Linked DNA regions of Homo sapiens: all the other regions are linked to region 3. Evidence: promoter capture Hi-C in human tissues and cell types (Jung and others, 2019). All regions are on one chromosome and are shown on one strand. Each heading gives the region's core, a stretch centred on a gene start or on the middle of the fragment in contact. The rest is flanking DNA. Distances are from core to core; before and after follow the strand shown. Region 1 overlaps LRFN2 (leucine rich repeat and fibronectin type III domain containing 2). Region 2 has its middle 100 kb from the start of LRFN2. Region 3 holds the start of APOBEC2 (apolipoprotein B mRNA editing enzyme catalytic subunit 2).

Region 1 (2,700 bases), core at 35-2,534, 510 kb after region 3:
CAGGAAACAGAAGACACATTCAAATGAGTTATATTAAAAGAAACTATTTACAAAGGTGTGGGGATGGCATAGAGAAACCACAGGGTTAGTGAAATACCCTGGGGCTGGTAACACTGGGAGGCTGTTACCTCCCCTAAACTTGGAGGGAGAAGGGAGGCAGTAGTTCCTGGACCCCAGAGAATATGTGAGCAGTATCAAAAAGGTGTCTCACCAGGTATGTCACCTTTGCTTGCGGGCCAGACTCGTGATGAGGAAGCTGGGGGTAGGAGGATAAATAGCCCAAACTCACTCTCCTTTCTCCCTCCCATCTTCTGTTGATCTTCCCAGTTGACCTCCCCTATTCAGGAGGCAGAGGGCATGATGCCCACTGGTGGGGGCTGCACTGACCAGCCTCCTGGACAATGACCAGGGTGAAGAAGGGTGTACTGTGGACCTGGAGGGTCAAATGGAAGATGCCCAGTATAGGGGAACTAGGGCGCATACACTAAATGGTGTAATAGAGCAGGTGTTAGGAAGCAGGAGTGTCACCATGGTTTTGGGCCACTAACTGACATTTAATTAAGGTTTGTGGCCAGGCGCGATGGCTCACACCTATAATCCCAGCACTTTGGGAGGCTAAGGTGGGCAGATCACCTGAGGTCAGGAGTTCGAGACCGGCCTGGCCAACATGGTGAAACTCTGTCTCTACTAAAAATACAAAAATTAGCCAGGTGTGGTGGCATGCACCTGTAGTCCCAGCTACTCGGGAGGCTGAGACAGGAGAATTGCTTGAACCCAGGAAGCAGAGGTTGCAGTAAGCCGAGATCGTGCCACTGCACTCTAGCCTGGGTGACAAGAGCAAAACTCTATCTCAAAAAAAAAAAAAAAAGATTTGCATTATTGCCATTTTTTTTACAACAGAAATATACTCTTACATCCGTAAAATATGATAGCTGCAGTTTCTTGAATCCCCACTTTATCAAGTACTTTATATATTACTGTATTTCAAATTCTCTCAGTAATACTAGGAAGAAGGTCCTATTTTGTCTCATTTGACAAATGAAGAAACTGAGACTCAGAAGGGTAAAAATAGTGCAGAAGTTAAGACCAGGGCTTTGAGGTTGATTGCTTGAGCTCAAACTTGACTCTATCGCATACTCACTCCTTGCCTCTAGGCCTGTTATTATACCTTTCTGTGTCTCAGTTTCCTCATCTGAGAAATTAGATAAATCTAGTTCCTGCCACATAGGGTAGTGAACCCATATACACAACACTGAGAACAGTTCCTGGAAGAGTCAATACTCAGTAAACTTAAGCTCTTGCTATTCACAAAGTGGTCCAAGATCACAAGGCTTGGAAGCTATAGAGCTGGGATTTGAATCCAGCTGGACTCCAAAGTCAGTGAATCTCACCTTATTATCTCATCTGATTCATGAGAGTTGGTTAAGCCAATGAGGACATATCATGAGAGGCTTCCTGGACTTCCCACCAGTGTTGGCCAGGAGGTAGTTTAGGACTTGAGCCCAGCTACTCACCTTTGCCCCTAATAAACCTGAATCAGGTGGTTTAAGAAGCTATGGGGAGACCTGGGGTCAATATCGGCAGGTCACTGAGATGAATAATGCACCTTCTTCCCAAGGAAGAATGAGCCCTTAGGTTACAACGGGAAAGTTTTGTGCAAACTTTTGGAACATGCCAGACCTTTAAGACCAAGTGGGCACATCAGAGCTGCATCCTCAGCTGCATTCAAGGCCCCGCTTCTCTGGGCTGTTCCTCCTGTGCTGCCTGTAGCCAGAGCCAGCCAATCACCCGCTGACTGTGCGTTGTCATGCAAATTCCCTTTACCTCCCCTCTCTCAGCCCGTTTTGCCCAGCCAAGCTGTGATCCTCAAAAACAGCCAGGCAGCCTGGTCCCTCTCTCTGGAGTCTCCCCATTGTCAAGAGTGCAGGATGGAGCCCACAGAAGCTACTTGTCTAAAATGTGGTTAGTTGACTGCCAGCGCTAAAATATTATCATTCAACAAATAGCTATTAAATTCCTGGGCAGGCATGATTCTAGGAGCTGAAGATACAACACCAAAAGAAAAAGAAACAATTTTTAAAAAGTCCCTGCCCTCATTAAGCTTATATTTTAAAATACTTCTCTACTCATGGGCCAAAGGATGTTGGCAGCCTTCTTTAGAGGGGCCGTGGTTGACCTTTTCATCTCATGAGACCCAGGCCCTGGCTTCATTCCTCCTCCAAGTGCCTCTGCCTCATCCTTTTCCCCTGCTTTTCCTCTTTCTCTGCTCCCTTACTTCTCTCTTTCCCTGTCCCACTTTCCTCTCTTCCACTTTCCCATTATCCTCTCCCCTCTCTCTTCATCTCTCCCCAACCTTCCTGACCTCCCCTCTTCCTCTTCCTCTGCCTGGGGCCATGGCTGTGTGTCTCTGCCTCTCCCCTCCACCACTCCACTGCAGGCAGTAACCCACTTAACATGCTCCAGGGGTTGGCCCAGTGCTTAAACATGAGAGAGAGGGGAATACAAATCACTCAGTCAGTTTGTTTTCAATGACCCATCGTTGGTGCTGCCCAGGGAGGCTGTGGCTGCCTGCTCTGCATTATGAGTGAGTGAGGGGCCTCGTAGGAGGTCCTAAAACTCCAGGACCTTGCCCTGCCCAGCCCAACCACACCACCTTCATTCTGTGTCCAGGGACCCAGGAGGCTCTGCCCTTTACACCCT
Region 2 (2,700 bases), core at 200-2,699, 360 kb after region 3:
ACCTCCCTCTCCCTGTGTGCACAGAGTCTCAGTAACGGCCCTTCATAGAGGACATGTTTCCTGGACTCTTTTCCCACATTTCTGCCTGGGAGACAGCACAGAAGTGCCTCATCTCACCAATGGGTCATCATTTTGGGGCATTTATCACTCTCCTGTGATGACTCAGAATGATGCTTCAAATAATTATCATTACATGTCATTCATTTGTTCTCTCCTGCAAAGGCCTTGCTCATTGTTGTCCTTGGTGTTGTGCTAGACAAAAGACAGATTCCTAAGACAGACCTCGCCCTCAAGGAGCTCACAGATGATCAGGGGAGACAGGGGACTCATGGCCTCTCAAATAAGGTGAGCAATGCTTCTGTAAAGGAACCTTTGGATCTGCACCCCATGGGTGTTCTTTGTGTGGAGGAGCCTTGGGGATTGCTTAAGGGCACAGGCTCTGGAACTGCATGGCTGTGGTTGAATCCTTGTTCCTCTCCATTTATGAGCTGCATGACTATGGGCAAGTCACTTAACCTCTCTGGGCCTCCATTTTCTATCTATGAAATGAAGATAATGATGGCACTCATCTCCTCGGGTTGTTATGAGAATTAAACAAGGTAATACTTGAAAAGTGCCTGGCACAGAGTGAGCATTCCTCAGTGTTAGCTCTTACTACTTTTATCATTATCCTCATCTTCATCACAAACTCAGAAGGAGTCTTCAGGGGAGGAGTTGCCACAGAGGAGAAGCTTCATAAGGCATATGACATTTGAATTGGGCAGGAAAGGTGACATTTTGCCAAGGGGAATAATCAGGAGAAGGAAAGCTGGAGCAACAGCATAGGCGAGGAAGTATGGCAATGCAAGGCACACCCAGTATAACAGCCAGGCCTCTGAGGTCTCTGGAGTGCAGAGAATGTGGGAGAGACAGGACCCTGGGAGGCAGGTTGGGGCCAGCTTGGGAAAGTCAAATTAAGCAATCTGAACTTTACTCCCCAGGAAAAAGTGGTCCTGAAAGAGTTTAAGAGAGGTGACATGATGAGCTTTGCCTTGGGAAGAATTATGGGGCAGGAGGCTGCTCAGAGGGGCCACATGAAAGATGGCCAGGGTTTGAGCTAAGGCAGTGGCTGTGTGCAGGCATTTAGACACTGTGAAACTTCAGGGACAGAGGGGAAACTGGACCGCTGTCCCTGTTAATAACCAGAAACGTGTTAGAAGCATGAGGTGAGATGATTGGGCTTCCAGCTGCCTTAAGCAAAGGCCTCTAGGCAGATGGAACCAGAGCCATGGGGTCCCCCCACCCAACGTTATCCACTTTAGAGCCACCCCTCCGCCTGCCATTGGTGAGCTGTGGCCCTAGCCTCACCCGGGAGCAGCACCGTGGTGATGGCTCTGCACTGGGGGACAGGGCATAGATGTCACTTCAAGAGTGATGGGTTTTGGAAGCTTGGTTTCCAGGTCTGACTGGGCAACTCACACCTAGCCGTGTGAGCCTACCAAGTCTCTCTGAGCCTTGGTTCCCCTCTTTTGTAATACGAGGACAATAGTAGCTACTTCAGAGGCTTATTATAAGGATTTAACGTCATAATGAATAAAAGTGCCTAGCTTAGGGCCTGGTGCCTAGGACTTCTCAGTAACGGTAAGTGTTGGTTGTTATTATATCCCCAGCAGCACTGACCTTGTGTTCCCCTCATCCCACCCATCCCCAACCCACACGGTTGAGAGCTCCCTCTGTCCTAGCCTTTCCTCATCATATCGTGTAAAGATCCGGAACTCCAAGACAGATTTCTGGCTGGCACAGGGGAGAGGTTTCTTCCAACCCTTGCACCAATCCAGATTCCTTTTCCATTTAATCCTCTTATTTTATTGAGATATGTGATGACCTGCACTTTACTGTTTAGGGTGTCTCATTATCCAAATGGAGTCAAAAGAGTGGCCACACTGGAATCTTTGAAGTTTTTCTTGGAGACAGAGGGATGACAAAATGCCCCAAGGTGCCCGGCCCCTCAGCCTTTGCCTAAGTGTCTCAGTGCCCTTCTCTCTTGCCTGCTGGCTTTTAGCCTGGACCTAGAAACAGATTCTGCTGCATAAGGTGAGAAAGCCACTGCTGTGTATTGCCCCCATGTTTATTTCTAATCAGCTTATGGCACCGGGGAGGCCGTGGCTGGATGCTCTGCATCCCTGCAGCCCATCTCCTGCTGCTGCACAGATCCTCTGAGATGATTGAAATGTGATGTGTGGGCTTAGGAAGGAGAGAGGGAAAATAGCGACTCAGACCACAGCAGTTGTCCTGGTTCATTGCCTATGCTTCCCACCCTCCACCGGGCACCCTCCCATGCTAGGCTGCCAAACTAGACATAACCCTTCCACCCAGCCCATACTTGGGAACAAAGCCAAGTGTCTTCTTTTCTTCTCATTCTCACCTCACTCCAGCAAAGCTGGGTTGCAGGGAAGCAACTAGGGGCTCAGAACACTGGGAAGGGGAAATGGTGCAAAGGCCTTACTTCTCATGAAGCTGTCTCCAGATTCACACCACATGATGCCAGGAGGAAGCTCCATGTGGGAACCACAGCCAAAGCCCCAGCTAGAATTCTGTCAGGCAGCTTTGTGTAGATCCTTGTGCCTTGTAACTCTCTTTCTCTTCTGGTCAGCAGCCCTGGCTGAGGCCCCTACCCAGGAGATATGCCATGGAAGTTGGAAGCCTGTGTGGGCAGAGACC
Region 3 (2,700 bases), core at 49-2,548:
TTGTCAAGCTTGAAATATCAAGTCCAAATTGCCACTCAGGGCTTCCTTTCCCCCTTGAAAGCATCATGCCTCCTTTCTTCCTGAAACTTCTCTTAGTCTCGCACCCACTCTGCCTGTGGTCATTCCTGGAGACCCCATGAAGGGAACGTTTGGTTCAAGGAGGAAATATGGCCTCATAGATTCTCTTTTTATTCTTTGCTCAGGATTTAGAAGGGTCTTCCACTACAGGAATAGAAAGGGAAGAGGAAGAAGACTACTTAGTTTTATTCCTGGAGATGGCATAATCTGGATAAGACAGAGGTACCCTGCACACAGCCCCCTCCTTGCAGTCTGTAGACCCTTTTCTTTGGGTCCCAGTTCCTCCAGGCAATGCCTGAGCATGTTGGAACAGCTCCTGTGTCCATAAGCTCCTGGGCTGCGTTATCTGCATGTAATTTCTCTGTTTCTCTGTGGGACAGCCCCTGAGGAGACTCAAAAGATTTAATAAGAAAAAAGCTGCTTCTGAGTCTTGGGAAAGGATGGATCTATCTTTCCTGTCTTGGGAGCATCTACTCCAGGAAGAAGCTCTAAAGAAAGGGCTAGAGGCCTATGGCTAGCGGAGAGACCCACTCAGGAACAGAGAAGTTGAGGGGAAGGGTTGCTTTGAACGGAGCCACATATAGATGTGCCAGTCTCATCCTCTGTCCTCGCCAAACTCCCTGGGACTAAGCTTCTACCCAGAGAGGCAGGTGGCCATCCCAATACCAGGAGGCCTGAAGGGTGGTTTTATTCTCTGGGCTTTTGCCTCCAAGGAGCTCCTCCTACCTCTCCCTGATTAGAGAGCCCAAGGTGTCACCCTGAGAAGCCAAGAGAATTTGCTGCTGGGTCCCCTACCACCCCTGCCGGGCCCACTGGTGCACTCTCACTGCTGCAGGGTTGTAGCTGTCCCTGACGCCTAATATAACCATCCTGAATTTCCACAGCCTAACCCAAGGCTGCACTCTTCTAGGGAGCAGAACCCTGACCCACATCTGAGGCTTACCCTGTGACAATCTCAAAGGGCGGCAGCTCAATCAGCTCTTTCAGCTTCTCAGGGTCGTCCAGGTTCTCCAGATCCTCCCCATTCTGGGAGGCAGCCTCAGTGGCCACAGCAGCCTCTTCCTTCTGGGCCATGGAGGGGCTGTGGCTCAGGAGTCACTGAGGGAGAGGAGAGAGGCAGGCAGGTCTGGGCCAGGCCCTGGCGGCAGAGTCCCAAGCAGCTGTCAGCAGCTAAATCTGGCTGGGGATGACGGGAAAAGGACCCAGCAGGCCAGGCTTCGTGCTTTCCCCACTTAGCCACAGGCTTTATAGCCAAGGCCTCCTGCCCCTCCCCCAGGCTCTCTCCCTCTATCTTTTTTTAATTGAGTGACAGCGGGTGCTGGGGTGGGGGAATGGAAAATCTGGCCATTAGTATCCCCTATTTATCAGTAGGCAAAGACAGGAACCTGGCAGGTGGGTATGGCTTGGCCTGCTCTCTTCTCCCTCTCCCTCTCAGCTCACCTTATGTTCTCCCCTTTGTTTCCCACCCAAATTCCCTAGCTCCACTGGGGGAGAGTGTGGAAGGGGCCCCAGGGCAGGCATCCTGAGATTTAGGAGGGTGGCCTTCTGAGATTTAAACAGGAGGAGATGTGTGTTGAAAGGGGCTGACTGCAAAAAGACCCAGGCCATTTGCTTTGGGGGAACGTGGGTTCAGGAAAGGAGGGGTCCTGGCAGAGGTGGGATCAAAACTGACAATTTGGGGAGTAAGTGTGTGAGTTATGACTCAAAAGCGGTGGGTGCTGATTTGCCTGTTACAAAGCCATAATGTAATGTCAAATCGATCAGGAGCCTCCCTGAGTAACAATAGCTGCCATTTACTTAGCTCAGAGATTTTGAAACAGGCCAGGCAGTGGGTTTAGGGGTTTAAATGAAATCAGATGCATGCTTGCCACAGCCATGGGAGGCGATGTGTATTATCCCAAGTTACAGGTAAACTGAGTCACAGAAGTGTGCAGAGCCGGGATTAAAATGCAGGCTTTTGTACTTCAGGCCAAATATTCAACCTCCATGCTATGTGCCCTCACAGTCAGTCTTTTATTCTTCTTAACAAATATTTATTGAGTATCTACTCTATGCCAGGTGCTGTTTCAGGTACTGGGAATATGGCAAAAGAACAAAGCAAATGAAAATCCCTGCTGTGATGATTTGTGGAGCTTGAGGAACTGAACAACAAATAAGGTAAGTAAAATACATGGTCTATTTTGTGATGACAAGTGCCAAGGAGAAAAGACAGGAAATGGAAACAGGAAGTGCTAAGAGGTGGGGTTACGTACTTATAGGATGGCCAGGGTGAAGGACTTTGAAAAGGAGACAATTGAAGAAGACGTGAAGAAGGCAAGGGAACTAATCATTTGGTTGTCTAAGAGGAAAGCGTTCCAAGGAAGGGAACAACGTGAGCAAAGGCTCTGAGAAGGGAGCATTCCTGGGGTGTTTGAGGAACTAGCGAGGACATACATCTGGGTGACTGAAGAGTTCTAAGAGATTAAGCCAGAGAGATAACAAGGGTAAAAGGGACTGGGGCCTTATGGGCTGTCATAAGTACCTTGCTTTTTCTCAGACTGAGGTGGGAAGCCATTGTCTCTGAACAGGTGAGACAGGTGGTCTGAGCACTTGGGAAGAGCAGAGGCAGGGGACCAGTGAGAA

The links. Contacts are between HindIII fragments. The study calls those that stand out against the background at their distance.
Region 1: a contact is called between a fragment that was not itself captured here and the fragment with the promoter of APOBEC2 in region 3, in 1 of the 25 tissues and cell types used here (thymus).
Region 2: a fragment that was not itself captured here is called in contact with the fragment with the promoter of APOBEC2 in region 3 in 1 of the 25 tissues and cell types used here (lymphoblastoid cells).

What each region holds. Positions count from the first base shown.
Region 1 is chr6:40,545,274-40,547,973 of GRCh38, reverse strand. All of the region lies in intron 1 of LRFN2 (leucine rich repeat and fibronectin type III domain containing 2), which reads left to right. Among named protein-coding and RNA genes, the nearest start is that of LRFN2, 41 kb to the left of the region's middle. The HindIII fragment of the contact is 3,923 bases long and covers 1-2,700 here.
Region 2 is chr6:40,689,995-40,692,694 of GRCh38, reverse strand. No RefSeq gene overlaps it. Among named protein-coding and RNA genes, the nearest start is that of LRFN2, 100 kb to the right of the region's middle. The HindIII fragment of the contact is 4,010 bases long and covers 1-2,700 here.
Region 3 is chr6:41,051,800-41,054,499 of GRCh38, reverse strand. APOBEC2 (apolipoprotein B mRNA editing enzyme catalytic subunit 2) reads right to left here and starts at 1,298. Exons shown (of 3, transcript NM_006789.4): 1 at 1,022-1,298. The coding sequence starts at 1,152. The HindIII fragment of the contact is 7,265 bases long and covers 360-2,700 here.